7 separate regions of the Homo sapiens genome follow, and all the other regions are linked to region 2. The links are contacts of gene promoters, found by promoter capture Hi-C in blood cells and fetal thymus (Javierre and others, 2016). All regions are on one chromosome and are shown on one strand. The core of a region is centred on a gene start or on the middle of the fragment in contact, and the rest is flanking DNA. Distances in the headings are between cores, read along the strand shown.

Region 1 (2,700 bases), core at 96-2,595, 6.4 Mb after region 2:
TCCTTTGGACAAAAAGGCCAACTTTGGGTTAATTTGTTCTTTTAATATATTGCTAGAGCTAAGCGGGCTACTTTATCTGTTAAACGCGCTCCTAGCGCCGTCGTTAAACAGCGACGCCTTTGAATCCCGGCCGGGACTGGAGTCCCGGCGCAACACATGGCTTTTATAAAAATCTCCGGATTACCTCGCTATCAAAAGCTCCCGAAGCCCTTGCAGGGGGAATTTACAGGCGCCCACCTCCGGCTCCCCAGCCTGGAGCTGGCCCCGAGCGGGGTCGAGCTGCTGGGCTTGGGAGCTGAGAAGGGAAAAAAGGGAAAAGGGGAGTTGTTTTTTTTTGCAGGCATGCCTTGGCCGGTGGGTATTTCACGGCCAATTTCAGCACTCGCCACGTGATCCCGCCTTTTATAACAAAGTTTTGTTGGGGGAAACCTAAAGGCCCTTCATAAACCTTATATGCTTATAAAACAGCATATAAAAATTTAACAGCGGTGCTGCGCTAGATTTCCAACTCCCCTTTCATAAAGCGCAGGGCGCTGCCTTTATACGTACTGGAGCCGCCGGCCTTGTCCTCAGTGTGGCCGGAAGACGACTCGGGGCTGCTGCTGCTCTCGGGGCGCCGCCGCCGCTCTTTCTCCTCTGCTGCCGCCGCCGTCTCCCGGCAGCCGCCGCCGCCGCCGCTGTCCGAACTTGAAGTTGCCGGCGCGCCCGTTGCAGCCGCCGCCGCCGCCGCGGAGGTCGCCGTGGCCGCCGGGGGCCCCTTCTCGGCGCTCTTGTCCCCGGGGTAGTCGGAGGAGGCGAGGTTTTCCGGGGTGCCGTAGGCTGTCTCGAAAAACTGGTCGAAAGCCTGTGGCAGGACGCCGTTCCTGCCCACGGTGCTATAGAAATTGGACGAGACTGCGGGGGTGGGGTGGTGGTAGACGTTGGCCGAGCTCTTGGCCAGCACGTCGCCAGGCACGCCGGCCGCGCTGGGCGCCTGCAGGCAGTCTCTGTGCACGAGCTCCTCCGCGGAGTAGCAGTGGGCCAGATTGCCGCGGGGGTGCCATTTAGTGGCGGGCTCAATGGCGTACTCTCTGAAGGTCACTTCGCGCACGGGTTGGACCTGGGGCAGGTTGGAGGAGTAGGAGTATGTCATTGGGCGCGAAGACGGGGTCTGGGGCAGAAAAGAAGGGAGGCTGGAGAAATCTGGACCCGAGACGTAGTAAGTACAACTTGGCAAATACATGTTAGAGGAGCAGGGACCACGCTCATCAAAATCCATTATTGGGCTACCTTGGGCTCTCCGCAGTAGCCGAGCTTAACATGATTCTCCACTGCAGCTGCCTCTTTGAAGCGGATCCGTGAAGTAGAAATTTGGAGACGTAAGCTGACGTGGAAATCTATCCCCATCCTTAGCAGGGAGGTGCTGGTCATGTGACCCGATGTTGAAATTGACAAGCTGCTAGCTAGTCCGGGCCTTTTCCCCCCCCCTTTCCTTTTTTTTTTTTCCTCCTCTCCCCTCCCTCCCGGCTTCCTTTCTTTGTAGCCACCTCAGGGGAAGCAACAGATCGTCACTCGGTGTTCTCACCGAAAGCACGTAATCGCCGGTGTAACTCATGTTGGCTGGGGGGCCTCCCGGCGCGCGCGGAGAGGCTGGGGTGCGCCCCCATGCAGCATGCTTGTGCTCAATTGCAGGGTCCTCGTTCTCGAGTGTGCAGAGGGCGGTGAGAGCTCAACTCTCGTCCCCACCTCCCACCCGCAGCTCCCCGGGTGGGTGAGGGATGCCCTGGACTGGGGATAGCCAGGTGGGAGTCCGTCGCTGTGTGGCCTGTGGTCTCGGAGTCTGTTCTCCTGGAGTCTCGCATTTGCACCCCCTTCTTCGCAGTCCCCCTCCCATAGACTTGCTCTGGGAAGCGCCTCTGCCTCCGACCCTAGCCGGAACCCCTTCGGGGCCAGAGTTTGAAGCCGTGGATGTGCCTGCCTGGTGGCTTGTCCGATTTGCACGGTGACTTGATTACACTCTCTCATTCATGGTCACTTCCGAAGCGCTTTAGTGCCTTCCGTCCCTAAACCGCCAACAGCCAGAACGGCTTCTCCCCGCGGTTTGTCACTGATCCGCAGGGCCCGGAAGGGCCTTCGTCTTACCCGGGATCCACCTCTCCCCTCATCTTCCCTGCCTACCTCTTCATCCCACCTTCTGTCCTTGGAGAAACTCCCTCCTCCTCGCTGCCTGCCGGGCTTCGGAGTGACTCGGCAGAGACAGAGGCACAGGGGCTGCCCTGCTGCTCACCGGTCCACCCATCTGCCTGGTCTTCTGGAGCTGAGGACTCGGGAAACCATGCAATTGAGGCAAGCCTTGGGCTGCTTTAGAGGCGCTGACATCCGAGGAGACTTCTCCTGGGTATGCTGCATCTTCGTGGGGGGCCCATCAGGCTGCTTACAGAGCTCCAGGGGTGTGGGGAGAATGGAGGTGGAAAGGACGGGCTGAGGGCCAAGGAGAGGTGGCTGAGAAAGGGGTAACCCACCTACTCTCCTACTCTCCTTCCTTGCAATGTGTGAGAGTGAAAGCAAGGGATGTGCAGGGCAAAAACTCAGAGAGCTCTGTGCCTTTCCTACTGCTCATTCCACAGGAGGAATACAATACCAGAGAAAGGAGAGGTGCTTCCCGAACTCCCTGCACCTGGGGAAACAGGGATGTCTTTAAAAAGCTAGGTTTGTGCTAAG
Region 2 (2,700 bases), core at 1-2,500:
TGGCGGAAGAAGAGGACGAGGAGCGTTTCCAGGGGTGGAAGCCTTTGCCGAAGGAAGAAGAGCTGTCCGAGAGGGAGGAGGGAGACGGGCTGGGGCTGCCTATCTTATTACAGGTAGCGGCAAGCATGGCCAGAGGAGTCGATCCCAACCTCGGTTCTTCCTGCGAGGAGGAGAGGAGAAGGAGTGGGGGAGGGGAGGTGGGCAAAGGGCCGGTGGGGGAGGAAAGGAAGAAATGTGCATCAGTCCTTCGGTAGCCTCCAAAGCGCCCCACTGCACCCCATCTCTCGCTGCGGCGCGCCGCCACCAACTCACCTGGCACCCCCAACAGCCCCGGCGCCCGGCCGCTTCCTACTCTACAGGAGGGGACAAGTTTGGCTGCCGGCGTCTGATTCGGGAGCAAGCACCACGCTAAAGAAGAGTTTGACAAGTATTCTCACCTAAAACAACACTCTCTTGCACACAAAGCCCCAGACACTTCGTAACAAACAAGCAAAAAGTCCAGATTGGAGAGGAAGGAAGTTTTCTTTGCCGAGAAGCCTGGGGGAAAACCATTGGATTGCTTTTAAGAGCGCTTCCCTGTAATCCGGAGAGCTTTGAAAAACCTGTTCGGGTCCCCAGAAACCCATCCTGGGTTGTTTCTCCCAGGCCAAAAGAAATCAAACTGTAGGGCTCACTCTTTCTTCCTGCTTTTCTTTCTTTCTTTTTTTAAAAGCATATCTACAGTAGTAAAAACGAGACGAGTTCAACGTACCTGCGAGACAAGGCGGGCTGCAGAATTTTTTTTTAAGGGTTAGGGGAAGAATCTGCACTTTGCCCAGAAGGAAAAACTTGCTCTCTTTACCCCCGAAATCGGTGCCTGTAAAATGGGCTGGACGCAGGTCTCCCGGGCAGGGAGCAGCGAGGCGCTGCGCGGTGGCTTGTCTAAATGCCCTTCGAACCTTTTCCTGCGCTGAAAAAAAGTGACTCTGCCCCCTTCTCCCCCTTTTTCTTTTCTCCAAACTCACTTGTATTTAAAGAAAAAAAAAAAAAGCTCTCAATAGAGAGACTGATAGCCCGTGGCCTGGCCGGGGCGACTTTAACCCCCTCCAATCGGCAATAAAAGGAAACTAATTAAACCAGCAAGAGAAAATCCTGAGACTCACCCCTAGAAGTGAAGTTGCCATCACACAAAAGTGCCCTCCTCCTCTCAGAGGATCTTTTTTATATTGATAAATCAGAGGCAGTGTTTTTTTTAGAGGTGTGCAATACAATGATCAGTTCCGCCCATTCCACCACAATTGTAGCTCCCTCTCCGGCTTTGAAGTGCCGCGGAGGCGCGGCCAGCCAATCTGCGGCCTCGCCGGGCCGCGCGGCGCGCGCGCCGTGAGGTCATCGGCGCCGCCGCCTGCCGCCGTGGTGGAAGGGGGAGTGGGAGCGGAGGGGGCGGGGGCGGCTGCGTGTGTTACAAAGCGCAAAGCGCGCGCTCGCGTGTATGAGTGTGTGTGTAACAATGTAACTGTGTGCGAGTGTGACCAGGCGTAGGAGAGGACAGTGCGGAGACTGGAGGGAGGGGGGATGGGGGTGTGACACCGTAACAGTGACAGTGTGGTAAAGGCGGGGAGTGGAGAGAGTGCAGAAAAGGGAGGGTTGTGTGATAAGATAACTGCGTGTGCGACAAAGCGGGGTAGAGGGACAGAGCAGTTAAGTGTTGGGAAGGGTGTGAGTGTACGGTAGTGTAACTGACAAACCTAGGGAGGGAAGAGGGACTCAACTGGGTGGGGGGTGAGTGTGTTTGGTGTTGGGGGAGAAGGAGGGCTGTGAACATGTGTATTTGTGCGACAGAGAAGAGGGAAGGGTGTGTGTGGGCGCTTGTGTTGTGTGCGCGCACCAAAGCTGGTAGTGGGGAATGGGAACAATGCAATAAAGTGTGTGTTTGTAAGAGAGAGACTGTCGAGCTGAAGAGAGAAACCGACTAAGTTGATGGAGGCTGAGTGAATAAATATTCACAAACGCTGCCCCTGTCGCCAACTTCCTTTGGCTCCTTGTACCTAAAATCTTGAGTGATTTTTTTTTCTTAACTTGGTAAACAGCGTCACTACATTTTTGAAGAAGATCTTTAAACCCACCTTTTCTTTCCCGGCTCTCCAACGAAATAGTAGAAAGGTTGAGAGGCTAAGGGTTATTTTTAGGGATGCGTTGGGACGTGGATGCGCGCCTGCGCGCCCATGAGTTGTTTCTTTGATGCCGTGGCTTTTTTTTTTTTTTTTTTTTTTTTTTTCCCTGAGGTGGAATTCTGCTTTAGAAGTGCACGTCTCACTCTAGGGGAGGAGGTGTGTGTGTCCCGTGGTGTTGAGTAAATTTCAATACAAAAGGATTAGATAGAGAAGAGAGTAAGCGAGGGTCGTTTTTTCTTTGGGTAAGAAATTGAAGAGCGTTTTACGGAATTTAGAAATTTTCACAGAAAACCTCACTGCCTCTTTCTGAGAAAAGAATCAGGACTTTGATCGAAATATATGGGTTCTATTTATCTAAGAATAGAGAGGAGCTTTTGACAAATCTTGGACATTTATCCAGGCGTCAGTGTCTAATGGCGATTGGGCCAGAGATCTGTCTATGAGTGTGTGTGCATGTTAATAGATACACTTAGTTCAAATTCGGTGGGGTTTAGTCATTTGCTTGCCATTTGTGTTATTAGTTGCCTTCAGAAATGCCATTACAATT
Region 3 (2,700 bases), core at 131-2,630, 5.1 Mb after region 2:
CAGTAACAAAACAAATAGCCCTGTTTATCATTAAATTGTAAACTCATAACAATACACTGTTTATAATATATCACATATCCTGTAAGTTTCTAAGCCAAATTATTTCATTGTGGTGGCAGATGGTTGTGGAAATCAATCTGTTTTTACATGTTGGTTCTCTCAGCTTACAGTAATAACTAACTCTAACATATTTAAGTGAGGGTTCAAATAATAGAAATGAACCACGTTCCAAATATATAAATTACATTGCCAACTGTGAGAAAGTCGAAATCTGTGTTCCATGTTATTTTATTTAAATTTACGAATTATGTGAAATGGGTAATTCCATCCATTTTTCCAGTATGGTTTTGTAAGAAAAAGACATGGAAATTGATATCTCCATAGAACAGCAACAGTTTAGGCCACTATTTTTATGGATGCAGGGATCCAAGAATTAAATAAGAATACACAGTGACATTTAAAAACATCTCTGAATAAGAACTGATTGACCAATTACATGCTCACAGCTGGAAGGTGTTTGTTTCCATATACTTTTCAAAAGATTGCATTTGCCTTTGTGGACAAACACTATCTCCAAGAAAGGAAATTAAGAACATGAAAGAGGTATTTTGTTTGTTTCAGGTTCCTTTCATTATGGGTATTTTTAAAAAATTTAATACCATGGGCCGGGCGCGGTGACTCACGCCTGTAATCCCAACACTTTGTGAGGCCGAGGAGGGCAGATCATAAGATCAAGAGATCGAGACCATTCTGGCCAACATGGTGCAACCCTGTCTCTACTAAAAATACAAAAATTAGCTGGGCATGGTGGTGCGCGCCTGTAGTAGCAGAAGTTAAACTATTCGGGAGGCTGAGGCAGGAGAATCGCTTGAACCCGAAGACGGAGTTTGCAGGGAGCAGAAATCGCACCACTGCACTCCAGCCTAGTGACAGCGAGACTCTGTCTCAAAAACAAAAAAAAAGAAAAACCATGAATTCACTATTTGAGATATATATATAGAGAGAGAGAGAGAAAGATAATTATATGTCTATCATTTTTTTTCATGAAAACAAGCTATGTTTTGTACCCAGAGTGCCATAATCAAGTAATGAAAACAGACTTGAAAAAATAAGTGGCAGCTTTATTAACAGTTACTGTATTTAGGGATGTTATATTCTGTGGCTGTTTCTAAAAGATGGCAAAGCAGTTATGAAAACTTTAACTTTCATTCGCTATAAAAATGTCATATACAAAAATAAAAACAAAATAGTGCCAGAATACCAGCTTCCCATACAAATACAAAAATGTATCTAAAGGGAGAAAGAAACAGTCTGTCTCCAAAATGTAAAATGAACAAGGTTTTTTTTTTTTTCTTTTAAGTTTGGATTACGTTGAAAATTGCCTCAATTTTTTCTCTTCACATCAGACAGATAAAGTTCAAGTGACTTTTCAAAGTCATATTCAACCCCCCAAAAAACTAAACAATCTTATGTATTTAAGTTAGATTGTAAAATGAATTTTGTATAGAAAAAATTATAAAATATTTACTACATAAGTTCACAGGCTCCAGAGTCCTTGATGCCTCAGCATCTGAGTGTTATTTGTATTTACTATGATGGTGAGCAACAGTATGCCAGGCAAAATTACATTTCTTTGTAAAATTGCCAATTTGAAATAGTACTGTGACTTCCAGAGGTGGTTTGGGACATATTTTTGAAGAAAAAAAAAATCACTCCTAGAAAAAATATATTTAATAATTATAGTTTTTTCTCTCCCTTTTTAGTTTGCCTTCCACAACATATACAAAATGTCAGTATCATTGATAAGAATATTCCAAGGGATATTAGAGGTAAATGAACAGGAGATTGATGACAAAATTCAAATATAAAGTTGTCAGAGAATTCACTGCATCTGGTATCAGCTTGTCCTGATTTTTAAAAGAGTCATCAATATTAAAAATTGTCATCTATGGGCTAGTGCATTTTCCAAACTATATACATATTTTGAAATATTAAAATAATATATGTGCATTGTAGTAAAATTTAAAAGCACAAAGAAAGCAGGGAAGAAAAATTCACTCCCTACGAAAGAAAACCACTACTCAGATCTTGATATATATTTGATATATATTCGATGATATATATTCTTGACATCTTTTTTCTGTGTATGTATTTGCATTTCAAAAAGTTAAATATTGCACATTCTGTTTTGTAAACTGTTGGGGTGTTTTATTAGTCTTGGTAGATGATGGAAATCTTCCCGTGGTCCAGGATTCTTCTATAAGGTGATTTAGATTGGCCAACAGGGCTACTTTCAATGATCACAACTGGATTCATTCAACACATTCCATATTAGGAGATGTTTAAATTGTGTCTAATTTTTCAGCATTGGAAACAGTGCTGCAATGCATATATTCTTACACCTCTGTCAGTGGCTGTAACTATCTTTGTAGGGCACATTTCTATGAGAGATGTTGTTTTTTGTTCATTTCTTTTTTCATTTTTTTCTTTTCTTTCTGCTTTTTTTTTCTTTTTTTCCCTTTTCTTTGGTGTGTTTATATTGCTTTATTTTGTTTTGTCTTCAGATTGGTTGCTTGTTTTTTAACCAAATAAAAGTGATCCAAAAGTGCAATCTTGCTTTTAGAAGCCAAAATATTAAAACATTTAAAAGGCTGAAGTTCCCACATTCCCACTTCCTCCTCCTCAGTTTGCTGCATAGCT
Region 4 (2,700 bases), core at 181-2,680, 6.4 Mb after region 2:
ACCATTCCCTCTCCTGTGGCTTGGTAAATACACCTGCCCTCCGTGGAAGGTGAGTCCTGGACTGGCGTTGCCAGGTTCGCATGTCCTCCCCAGAACCTCCGTCTGGCTCCAGGGACTCTCACTGAGCGGGTCTAGAGCACCCAGCACTTTTCAAGGAACAGCCGCGGTTCCTTTGTCCCGCGGCTCCAGCCCCGTTCGGCCCAGCTCTCAGGGAAACGAAGCGCTCAGTAAGAACTTTTGATATTAGTTTGTATGGGTATTTACACTCTGGTGAGGGGAGCTGAGTACGGAAGTTCCATTAATCATACTCCAACCTTGGGTTTAGATATTCAGTTTATGGGTTGGGAGAGGGAGTTTGCCGGAAAGAAAGCATCAAGGTTGGCCGCTGACTCCAGAGAAATGAAAAGGGAGCAAGGTCGTTTTCTGTTTCTGGAAATCAAGAATTAGGAATGGGCAACTACAGGTGCTAACCAACAGACCACTTTTTTGTTTTTTGGTAGCCCTTTGGCAGGGATAGTTTTTCCACCTTTGCCCGATACAATTTAAAAAAAAAAATCCTTTTATTATGGAATTTGTCAAACACACACACAAGCATAACAAACCCCTAGGTACCCATCTCCAAGTTTTGACCCCTATTATAATTTCATCTTCAGTGTTTTATTATCCACTTCCTCTCTCTCTATCTTTAGTATTTTAAAGTAAATCCCAGATAGCATCACATCATTTCACCCCCACCATAGGATTTCAAAGATCTGTTATATTTCAAGATTGAGTAAAAGGGCTTGAAATTGGGTTATTGCAATGAAACTCTAGAAAAAGCTTGAGGGTTCACCCAGGAGTAAGCTGGACAAAAAAGGGGTTTGAGGGGTGGACCCATCTTGCCTAAAAATCTTGTCTCATCTTTCTAAAAATTACATATGAAAGAGGAAGATTTATGTTACTTTTTTATATGAGAGAATCGTCCTTTAATAGAAAATTTCTATTGCTGCATCAGAATTATGGAGGAACACAAAAAACATACCTCAGTCCTTAGTGTGTCCTAAATTAACACATATTCACTTATTAGTGGGTAAATGACTATATTTCATTTCAGCACAACTTCTCCCCTGGTAGAAACACAAAAGAAATTTCTAATGATTAAACTAGGAAAGTTTGCACTGAATTGATGGCTTATCAGAGCAACCGCAGTTTTCAGGAAGAAATTCAATGCCATGCGTTGAAAATATCCCCCTAGCAATAAGGGATTATTTTTAAAAAAGAATGAATAAAGATGTTCTGGTTTCTTTTGTTTTAATCTGGTAGTCTCATTTACAACGAGCATGATTCTCCCTGTCGAACTCTGAAAGTGACTTAACTGAAAGGCTTGGCAACTTCAGAAAGCAAAAAGGTAAAAACAGAAAATAGCACACGGTTGAATTTGACAACTTTTACACTACCCGGCTGCTTAATAAATTCTAACCCCACTTGTCTGAGTGGATACTGATCATCTTTTCTATGGCAGTATTTTGTATTTGGGTTGTTTATGGTTTCTTAATTAATTTTTTTGAGTAGTGATTAAATATCTGGGATGCTTTTACACTAAGCATATAAATTCTCATGGTATTAGAAAAGAGCTATTTGATGAAACTCATAAGGGGTATGTAAATTAAAAAAGAGAAGAAAGTGTGTGTACATATTTTACAATAATCTCGAACGACTCCAACTATATGTTGCAGAAGCCATGAGCTCTCTGCCCACTGTCTGTGGGGTATCAGCAAGATTGACTCCTACCAAGCCTTGGGCACAGTGGTGGGTTTAAGGGTCCCATGTCTCCAGATCCTAAGATGGAGTTCACCGCAGGGGTGAGGGCTCGGGTCAGGGTAAGGGTGGGGACTGCAGAAGTCAAACAATTCGGAGGAAGAGGGAGAGGGGAAGAGAGAAGCCACAGACAAGCCAGGAGACAAAGAGGAAGGGAGAGATGGGAGGGAGAAGAATAAGAAGCAATGAAACTGTAATTCTCCACAAAAATTTAAGCTACAGCAGCTCAAAGAAGGCCTGTTTTTAAAGCTTAGCAGAAGCCCATTCTCCGCTGAAGCCTGTTCTTTGTGGAAGCCTGGCTGGGGGGCAGTGGGGGCGGTGCCACTGTCGAGTGTTCCTTGCCATTTAGGTCCAAAGCCTCCCTGTGATTTCTGTAACTGCACAAAAACAATCTGGGCTTTAAGAACCTGATTATTGTCCAGAGTTAAATGCAGGCTCGACCTTCTGCCCATAGAGAGTCCAAACGCATGAATTCCTGCTGGTATCAGCTTCGGAGGCAGAGGTCGCGAGCTGAGCTTGGGACAACCCTTCAAGCCTGCTAGCAATTACCTGCTCTCAGCCACTTTTAAAAGGCCATATTTCTTTACATTTCTAGGATCTAATGTGAGGTTATGTCAGGTCATGGGACCCTAGGCTGGTGCAAAGTAATTTGATGTCACCAAGAGCAAGCAGACTCGTTTGTCACCCTGAGGAATAGAAGTCCCTGTGATTTCTGCTGGGAGCAGAGCAGGGTTGCTTGGCTGGGGGTGTGGAATCCAGACAGGGGTCCAGTGTGGGCCTAACCAGGTGAGCTGGGAGGGGACTTTCTGGATCGTGTGTGTGTGTGTGTGTGTGTGTGTGTGTGTGTGTGTGTGTGTATGTTTGTCTGTCTCAGGTTGAGAGGATTAAGGGATCAGCTCTGCT
Region 5 (2,700 bases), core at 26-2,525, 6.4 Mb after region 2:
ATTTTTTAAGTAAAAAAGCTGTTCCTTTAAACAGCCTTAGCCCCAAAATAAGAGAGTTACTGAACAATTAGCAGGCGTTGAGTGTTAAGCAGATGTTACTGGTGCCTAGAAAGCGGAGAAAAATCAGAAAACCAAATATTGTCTTCCTTCAGCCCAAAGGTTTGGAGCCAGAATAGTCTGACTTTTTTGTCTGCTTTTATTTTCGAAGTGAAAGAGATTGCGTATGCATAAAGAAATAATAAATGAGTATAATTTAAAGCGGCCCCTTCTCGACTGAGATTTCTGAAACTGTGATCTCTGAAATAAATCCAATGCCCTGGTCCAGAAAATGGCAGGGAGGAGTTGAAGGGAATGGGGTGTGTGGTCCTTTCAGACAGCAGGTCGGTGGCTGTGCAACGAAAGAGTTCCTGGGCCTCCAGTCCAGGCAGGGAAAGGAAACAGCTTTGTGGGCACGAATCTGTAACTGTGTGTGTTGGGAGTAGGGAGAGATAGTTTGTTTTCTGTTTTCTGTAGGGAAAATGGTCAGACTGGCTCCCATCTGTAGACTACAATTTGGAACGATGACTCAAGTTTATATCAATGGCTCTGGAATTTGGGATTCTTTTTGCCCATTTAAAACATACTGGCTCTTGGAAGGGTCCCCTTCTCCAGCACCCAGCTGCACAAAGGTGCTGTATGGAACATATTTTGTACCTAATGGAAGCCACTAGTAAGCAAGCAGTCAAGCTTTGCCCTAGCCAGTCTCCCTCAATGCGGTCAAACCCCAAGCTGTGACCGGCAGGCCGGGAAGAGCCAGCTAAGAGCTTCCCAGCGAATGGCCAGGCTCCAGCGAGGCTGGTTGGGCCTCAGCTCCAGTCCCCAGTGAGGCTGGCGAAGGCCTCCCTGCCCTCGATATGGGCACACAAAGCTGCAGCGAATGTCCCCTAATCAGATCTCCTAGTCAGCCGTTAGCGACAGGCGAAGAAACGCAAGGCTGCCGCCATCCGGTCGTGATCATAACCGAGGCCTTGTCTGCAGAGTAACACACCAGGCCCAAACCCACCGCCCTCGGCAGCCGCCCCACGCGGGCCCTTCCTCGGCAGACTTCCCAACCTCTACTTGAGCCGCAGAGGAAAGTGAGACCCCCTAGGCTCTCCTGAAGCCAGCTCTGGGCCCCTCCCCAAGGATGCTTTGGGAAGGAGATAAGGAGGTGAGATAGAATCTGGCAGAGACGGAAGATGAAAAAAAGACCAACGGAAGAAAAGAAAGCAGGAAGGAGCAAAGGAAAGAAGAAAAAAAGAAAGAAGAGATAAAAGAGGAAGGGAAGACAGGGAAAAGAAGGAAGAAAAGAGAGGCGACTCCTAGCAGCGGCCGAGCTTACAGAGAGAAGGGTAAGTGACAAGGCCAGGATCCCAGCCTGCCCTATCCTTCCTAGTCCAGCCTGAGTCTCCACTGGAAGGAGGTTCTTTCCTGAGCTCACACCCGGGACTGGTGTGTGTGTGTGTGTGTGTGTGTGTGTGTGTGTGTGTGTTCCAGCCTTACAAGAGAATGGCAGGAGGTCCCTGGGCAGGCGCAGGCCTCCAGTGGGAGGCTCAGGATGGAAGCGGGCGCCCCTGACCTTGAATGGCCCAAAGCCCAGAATTCCTACCACGCCCCCGGCGTCCGCGAAGGAGCAGCCAACCTAACCCTACCTGCTGTGACCAGGTGGAGGTGTGTGGTGGAAGGGGAAAGCCGGCCGGCTGGCAAAGCGCTGCGGAGAAAGACACGAGGCTCCTGAGCAGGGAAAGCCGAGGTTGCCACCGCAGGCCTGGCACGACCAGGGCCGTGATGCCCCGCCCGGCCCGACCCCCGCGCGCAGAGGTACCTGGAGACGATTTCAACTGAAGTAATGAAGGCAGTGTCGTGCTGTCGAGAGAAAGGTGGATCCCAACAACAGGAAACTACCTAAATCACCGACCAGTTCTGGTGCTGCCCGCGAAGGGCTGCCTCGCCCGCCGCCGCCGCCGCCTCCGCCGCTGCCGCCGCCGCCAAGGAGAGAACCCTGCCATCGCGCCTGGCCCGGCCCAGCCCAGCCCCTAGGCAACCTGCGCCCGCCAGTGCAACAGAGTGCCCCAGGCGGCCGCAAATGCGTCAAGGAAGGGGAAGCCACAGGCCCCAGTAAGGTATTCCTGGGAGGGAGAGGGAGGAAAAGAGAGGGAGGAAAGGCAGGGAGAGAGGAATAAAGGCGGGGAGCAGGCGAGACGAGAGCAGCTCCGAGAAGCAGTGTGCGCGCCGCTTTCCCAAATCTTGCAGCCCAGCGAGCCGGCGCCAAGAGGCGGTAGCCGTGGAAGGCTCGAAAGCGCCAGGGACGGTACAGATCCCGGCTCCCTGTCTGGCCCCGGCCTCCCGCCTCTCGCTCTCCCCCTCTCCCTCCTAGCTGCCCGCCCGCCGGGGCGCGCGCTCCTGCGCCCCCTCCCCTTAGCCCCCGCCCCCCCCACTCTGGCAAGCAGGAAACGCGTGGCCCTAAGGAGTGCCGCCAGGTGGGGGAGGCCGTACTGGGGGAGGGGGAGGCCCCCATGCAGTCCAGCCCGGGTCCACCTAACCGCTGCCTCCAGCGGCTAGAGATGCGCTGTGGGCCAGGCCTGCTCCCCGATTCAGATTGAGGGTCATCTGTGACCCAGACACCCGCAAAATAACCGGCCTCTGCAAGCCTCCCTGGGGCTCCCGAAAGAAATCCTGTTT
Region 6 (2,700 bases), core at 197-2,696, 6.4 Mb after region 2:
CTCTTCCTTTCTAGAAAGAAAACAATACGATTTGGACCCTGGGAACAATCTGCCCATCTGAGGCTGGGGCCGTGTCCCGGCGGACTCCGGCTTTCCCTGGCCCCTCTCCTGCCCCCTCCGCCCTGCCCCGGGCGCCCCGATCGGGAGGCACAGCCCTCCCAGGCTGCCCACCGCACAGAAACCCAGGAAGCAAGGCCCTTTCCTGAGCGCCCAAGTGGCCTTCGGGTCACCCTCCCTCAAAGTTCCAGCCCCGAGAGCCGCCTCCCGTTTCCAGCCTGCAGGGTTGGGGAGCCTGTTTTCTTTTTCTTCCCTTTCCTTCTCTCTCCCTCCTGCCCCCAAAATTCAGAATCCTGCAGGCTCTCGCCTCGATTCTTTCCCCCAAGCCCCTTTTCGGGGGCTGTAATTAGTAACGCTGTTTCCCCAGCGTAGCCCTCCTCATAAATTATCCGCCGTGACAAGCCCGATTCACGGCTGCTACAGCCATCCTCTACCTCTCTGCGCCTTGCTCGGCTGGCCTGACCCGGGAGCGCGTCCCAAGGCGTGGGGTTCCAGAGGGGTTTTTTGCTTCCTCCCCCTTCCAACGTCTAAACTGTCCCAGAGAACGCCCATTTCCCCCACTATTTGTGAGCGCAGGGTGCTCGCAAAGAAGAGGAGGAAGGAGGAAGGCAGGGGAGGGAGAACGGCAAGGAGAGCTCCGCAGGGCTGGGAGAAATGAGACCAAGAGAGACTGGGAGAGGGCGGCAGAGAAGAGAGGGGGGACCGAGAGCCGCGTCCCCGCGGTCGCGTGGATTTAGAAAAAGGCTGGCTTTACCATGACTTATGTGCAGCTTGCGCATCCAGGGGTAGATCTGGGGTTGGGCGGGCGGCGCCGGGCTCGGCTCGCTCTGCGCACTCGCCTGCTCGCTGCTGGCAGGGGCGTCCTCCTCGGCTCCGGACGCCGTGCCAACCCCCTCTCTGCTGCTGATGTGGGTGCTGCCGGCGTCGGCCGAGGCGCCGCTGGAGTTGCTTAGGGAGTTTTTCCCGCCGTGGTGGCTGTCGCTGCCGGGCGAGGGGGCCACGGCGGAGCAGGGCAGCGGATCGGGCTGAGGAGAGTGCGTGGACGTGGCCGGCTGGCTGTACCTGGGCTCGGCGGGCGCCGCGCTGGCGCTGGCAGCGTAGCTGCGGGCGCGCTCTCCGGAGCCAAAGTGGCCGGAGCCCGAGCGGCCGACGCTGAGATCCATGCCATTGTAGCCGTAGCCGTACCTGCCGGAGTGCATGCTCGCCGAGTCCCTGAATTGCTCGCTCACGGAACTATGATCTCCATAATTATGCAACTGGTAGTCCGGGCCATTTGGATAGCGACCGCAAAATGAGTTTACAAAATAAGAGCTCATTTGTTTTTTGATATGTGTGCTTGATTTGTGGCTCGCGGTCGTTTGTGCGTCTATAGCACCCTTGCACAATTTATGATGAATTATGGAAATGACTGGGACATGTACTTGGTTCCCTCCTACGTAGGCACCCAAATATGGGGTACGACTTCGAATCACGTGCTTTTGTTGTCCAGTCGTAAATCCTGCCTGATGACCTCTAGAGGTAAACTCGTGCACTAATAGGGGAGTTGGGTGGAGGCGAGGGGGGTGGCGCGCGCGCCCCGGGCGCGTGCCCGCCGCCAGTTGCCGCCGTTCAGCCGGACTCGAGCGCCACCCGCTGGAGGCAGGGCTCATCGCCCAGCTTCCGACCGGGGGCTGCAAGGGCCGGGGTCGAATTGAGGTTACAGCCCATTATGGCAAAATTATTGCATTTCCCTCGCAGTTCCATTAGGATGTACCAATTGTTAGGCCGTCAGCTGCCGATCGCGCGCCCGGCGAGGATGCAGAGGATTGGGGGGAGGTGGTGACTTGCATTTTATTTACAACAACTTTATTTCCCCCGTTTTGCAGCCCCTCTTATTTTTGTGTCGAGGTTGGGGTCGGTACTGACCGTCCTGCCAGCAGCTCTGAATTTTGAAAATACAGATATCACCTTCGGGGAAGGGGGAAAGCCATTTAGCCAATTGGAGAAATAAATCCTGCCCGCAGCAGCAGCAGCTACAATTACGGCTCTGTTTTTGCGAGCGCATGAGGGACAGTGTCCCTGCCGCTCTTAAATGACAGGCGTCTATTAAAGATAGCTTTTGTGTAGTGTTTCTCCAAGGCGAGGTCAAATTCCATACACTTTTATAACCGTAGTCGATTTTTCTTTCGTGTGAATATGGTTTTCGTGTCATTAGTTTGCGATTTGATTTGCTTACGTATCCAGCCTGGAAAATCTTCATCACAGGGTCCGGTTCCTCGAGCCAGCCGGGCCCCAAGTCGGAGGGTTCTCCTTGAACCCAGCGAGTGGGCCCAGGCTCCCTGCAGCCACAGAGGCTGCCTGGGGTCTGGGGATCCGTGGGGCGGGTTACTGGGGTCTTGCTTAGACCTCCAGGAGTAAAATGAGGGCGATAATGGAAGCATTCCTTGGCAGTGCCTAGTATCTCTGTAGTTATTTTCCACGGCTCCGAAAGACTCAAGTAAATCACAAATATAGCTGAGAGGCAAGTGGAGTCTCCCCGCTGGAGGCCCGGCGTTGCAGGCGCCCCTGGCACGTCTGGAAGCCAGGACTCTGGCGGCTCCCATGGCCCTGGGCCCCTCGTTGGGTCCTGAACGCTGCTGTGGCGGCGACGCGGGCGCTATCGGA
Region 7 (2,700 bases), core at 136-2,635, 6.5 Mb after region 2:
TAAAGAGGATGAGCTCCGCAGAGCCTTGAAGACAAAATGATTCTGGCTAGCAGCTCCCTAACTATGGCATTAAATTGCTCAGTTACATAGCAAATCGCTACTTGGTTTCTGCATCCTTGTCCGTATTTTTTTTTTTTCTGTCCTACAGTTTGATCCTGTCTCCCAATGTGGCATGCCCCACGAACGGTTTCTTTAGTGATTATGTTGACTCCACCTTCCTAGTTTCAAACCCTGCACCCGCACTCTCCAGACAGGAAGTCCCTCTCCCTCGACCAGGGATTGAGGGAGAAGAGATTCAGAATGCATCTCCTTGCCCTAGGCCTTTCGGGGGGGACATGGCCTTAGACAGTCACCCCGAAATTGGGCTCAGGTCCTCACAGTAAGTCGAGTGTCCCCCCACATCCCCAACCCCGGCCCTTTCACTAAAGTTTAAAAGATTCTTTTGTTCCTCAGGCTTCTCCCGCTTGGTTGCTTCCATTATTCCCCAACTGCGGAAACACCAGCCACCATATGTCCGCCGGAGAATAAGCGTGAGTGTCGCGGTGGACAGTTGCCGCCAAAGGTGTCCAGACGGATGGCATTCTCAAAGTAGGGATCTTAGCATCCTCTCCATACATCATCACCCAAGAATGGTAGAGGAAAGAGTAGGAGTGGGGTTACAGATAGGAGAGAAAGGAGGTTGAGGCCACAAAATTGGCATTTCTCTAATTATCAACCCCCTCCTCCACCATCCTGCCACCATTTGTTATGGCAAAGTTCTCTTTCTGTGCCCCTTCCCTAATAAAGAAATCCTCAGTCAGCCTCCACCTACTCCTTTTGATTTGCAGGAAGCCAAACTGCCAGCAGATTGAGCTTTCTAAGGGATACCTTTGGGATATGTTGGAATTCTGATTTGTTCAAGATGATGACGGTCATCAGTACAAATCAGAAACAATGCCACTCTTCAGGGTGTCATTTGTAAGTGCAATAACACGGATTCATTTGCAAAACCCAGCTAAACTGCGTCTGGATAAGTGACTAGATCCAAACGACAAATTTCTTCCATCACTCAGCTCCTCCCAAGCTCTGCGGGGGCAGCACAGAAGACTGCTTTAGGGTGAAACTAAGGCTCAGCTCACCATTTGTGCCAGCTTGAGGGACCCTGGAAATGTTGACTCTGAGAAAAAGACAAAACAAAACAAAACAAAACAAAACCCAATCACAAAACATATCCTACTGTCTACAAAGCAAACAGAAACACAAAGTTGTTTCCAAAATCACCTTTTCAGCAAATAAGTATGTGATATTCTGAGCAGGAGCAGGAGGGAGAGAAAGACTGCCACTTAAAAAAACATGAAAGCATTAAGTAATAATTTAAAACACGGCTGTTTAGAAAAATATTTATATTTATTGCAGCTGCTCAATTGGCCTCGTTAAAGTCGGCAAGCATTTAAATTGTGTTACAATCTCATTTAAATCCCGTTCCGTTCCAGCAGGCTGAAGAGCTTGAATAGACCAATCACTTCATAATGATGATGAATGAGAAATTAATTCAGATACAAGCAAGACAATTTAGGCCTTCATCTGTTTAAATAGCCTTCCAATATTATTCGCCATCGCGGGTCACAGATTGAATCAATTGTCCAATCTTGTGAAAGTCATATCCTTGCGTCTTCATCGAGATTATTTATAGCGCAGTGAGCGCTGCTGAAAGGTATACGCTGTTAACAGGGACAATTACTTAAAGGGAAGCGTTTGTAAAATGGAAAACAAATGCCGGGGTTGGTAACAAATGGGATCAAAAGCAGCCATTCCAATCTGGCTCCCCGAGGGAAAGGAGCGGGCGTGGCCCTGTAGGATTAGGGGCGCTTCTGACCTCCCCAAGACCCAGGTGAGGCCGAGGGTCCCCGGCGCGCCAGCCTGCGCCGTGGCTGTGGCTGCGGTGGCGACTCGGGCCGGGCCTCGCTCTCGCCGGCTTCAGGTTCCCGCCTCCCTCGCGCAGGCAGCGGGCGCGTGTGGCCCGGGCTGGGCAAGCCGAGGAACAGCGAGCCCCCGGACGCTGACTGCAGGACGTCCCAGTTTGTGCCCGGGTCTCCGTCCCTCCCCGTACGGGGCTCGTACCCCCGGGCCTGGGTCTGACCCACAGGGCGCTGAGGCCTTTGTAGCTGAAGTCGGAAGGCCTCGTTGCGAGCGCGGCACAGGTTGCTGGTAGCTTCTGGACTCTGGAGGCTTGGCCTTCCTTCTAAGCCGATGGCGGGGAAAGAACCTCGTTTCCACAGCTTCCCCGACCCCCGCCGCTTGCCATTTGGGGACGGGAAGCGCGCCCGGGTCGCTTCACGTCCCTCTGGGCCGGAGCCCTTTCCATGGCTGGCTCCTCTGGGGGCCCTTGGGCCTGTGAGCAGCGTCTACTTCCCTCAGAGAAGAATCCTTTCCTTCCCCCATCGAAGTGTCCCTTTCTGTATCCTGAAATAACCCCTCCTGGGTGAGGCCAGTTCCCCTCTGTCGCCCTCCTCCCGCAGGCGTCCGGGAGCCTCGTGAGGACCCCGTGCAGTTGAGTCCAGGCGACAGGTGCCTCCCCAGGTGTCTACTTGCCCTCCCTCAACCTGTTTAGGGAAAGACCAGAACGATGTGCGCGGGGAGGTGGTTTTGTTTCTCCCGAAACTGGCGCTCTTGGGTAAAACCGCGTGCCGCGTCTACGCGGGCTCTGTTAGTGTGCGTGTC

What was found. The method cuts DNA at HindIII sites, captures the fragments that hold promoters and counts their contacts. A CHiCAGO score of 5 or more calls a contact.
Region 1: a contact is called between the fragment with the promoter of HOXA11 here and the fragment with the promoter of SP8 in region 2, in 2 of 17 cell types (naive B cells and total B cells). The highest score is 28.5, in naive B cells.
Region 3: a fragment that was not itself captured here is called in contact with the fragment with the promoter of SP8 in region 2 in 2 of 17 cell types (naive B cells and total B cells); the score reaches 10.0 in naive B cells.
Region 4: a fragment that was not itself captured here is called in contact with the fragment with the promoter of SP8 in region 2 in 2 of 17 cell types (total B cells and naive B cells); the score reaches 14.1 in total B cells.
Region 5: the fragment with the promoter of HOXA10-AS here is called in contact with the fragment with the promoter of SP8 in region 2 in 2 of 17 cell types (naive B cells and total B cells); the score reaches 49.2 in naive B cells.
Region 6: a contact is called between the fragment with the promoter of HOXA5 here and the fragment with the promoter of SP8 in region 2, in 2 of 17 cell types (total B cells and naive B cells). The highest score is 22.4, in total B cells.
Region 7: a fragment that was not itself captured here is called in contact with the fragment with the promoter of SP8 in region 2 in 2 of 17 cell types (naive B cells and total B cells); the score reaches 14.0 in naive B cells.

Annotation. Positions count from the first base shown.
Region 1 is chr7:27,183,887-27,186,586 of GRCh38, forward strand. It overlaps HOXA11 (homeobox A11), which reads right to left and starts at 1,346. Exons shown (of 2, transcript NM_005523.6): 1 at 550-1,346. The coding sequence starts at 1,258. It overlaps HOXA11-AS (HOXA11 antisense RNA), which reads left to right and starts at 1,522. Exons shown (of 2, transcript NR_002795.2): 1 at 1,522-2,377. RefSeq lists enhancers at 1-709, 1,592-2,473. The HindIII fragment of the contact is 8,872 bases long and covers 1-2,700 here.
Region 2 is chr7:20,785,636-20,788,335 of GRCh38, forward strand. It overlaps SP8 (Sp8 transcription factor), which reads right to left and starts at 1,251. Exons shown (of 2, transcript NM_182700.6): 1 at 1,143-1,251; 2 at 1-160. The coding sequence starts at 1,163. The HindIII fragment of the contact is 6,810 bases long and covers 1-2,700 here.
Region 3 is chr7:25,865,630-25,868,329 of GRCh38, forward strand. No RefSeq gene overlaps it. Among named protein-coding and RNA genes, the nearest start is that of LINC03007, 77 kb to the left of the region's middle. The HindIII fragment of the contact is 5,129 bases long and covers 1-2,700 here.
Region 4 is chr7:27,205,966-27,208,665 of GRCh38, forward strand. HOTTIP (HOXA distal transcript antisense RNA) reads left to right here. Exons shown (of 3, transcript NR_037843.3): 3 at 1-1,294. Among named protein-coding and RNA genes, the nearest start is that of HOTTIP, 6.9 kb to the left of the region's middle. The HindIII fragment of the contact is 1,227 bases long and covers 818-2,044 here.
Region 5 is chr7:27,167,624-27,170,323 of GRCh38, forward strand. HOXA10-AS (HOXA10 antisense RNA) reads left to right here and starts at 1,276. Exons shown (of 3, transcript NR_046609.1): 1 at 1,276-1,370; 2 at 1,684-2,141. All of the region lies in intron 1 of HOXA10-HOXA9 (HOXA10-HOXA9 readthrough), which reads right to left. It overlaps MIR196B (microRNA 196b), which reads right to left and starts at 1,940; the gene lies at 1,857-1,940. RefSeq lists enhancers at 961-1,551, 1,552-2,142. The HindIII fragment of the contact is 2,254 bases long and covers 725-2,700 here.
Region 6 is chr7:27,142,235-27,144,934 of GRCh38, forward strand. It overlaps HOXA5 (homeobox A5), which reads right to left and starts at 1,447. Exons shown (of 2, transcript NM_019102.4): 1 at 812-1,447. The coding sequence starts at 1,373. All of the region lies in intron 1 of HOXA3 (homeobox A3), which reads right to left. The region is part of intron 1 of HOXA-AS3 (HOXA cluster antisense RNA 3); the gene reads left to right. The HindIII fragment of the contact is 13,335 bases long and covers 1-2,700 here.
Region 7 is chr7:27,249,695-27,252,394 of GRCh38, forward strand. No RefSeq gene overlaps it. Among named protein-coding and RNA genes, the nearest start is that of EVX1-AS, 3.8 kb to the left of the region's middle. RefSeq lists enhancers at 1-178, 1,636-2,339. The HindIII fragment of the contact is 6,789 bases long and covers 1-2,700 here.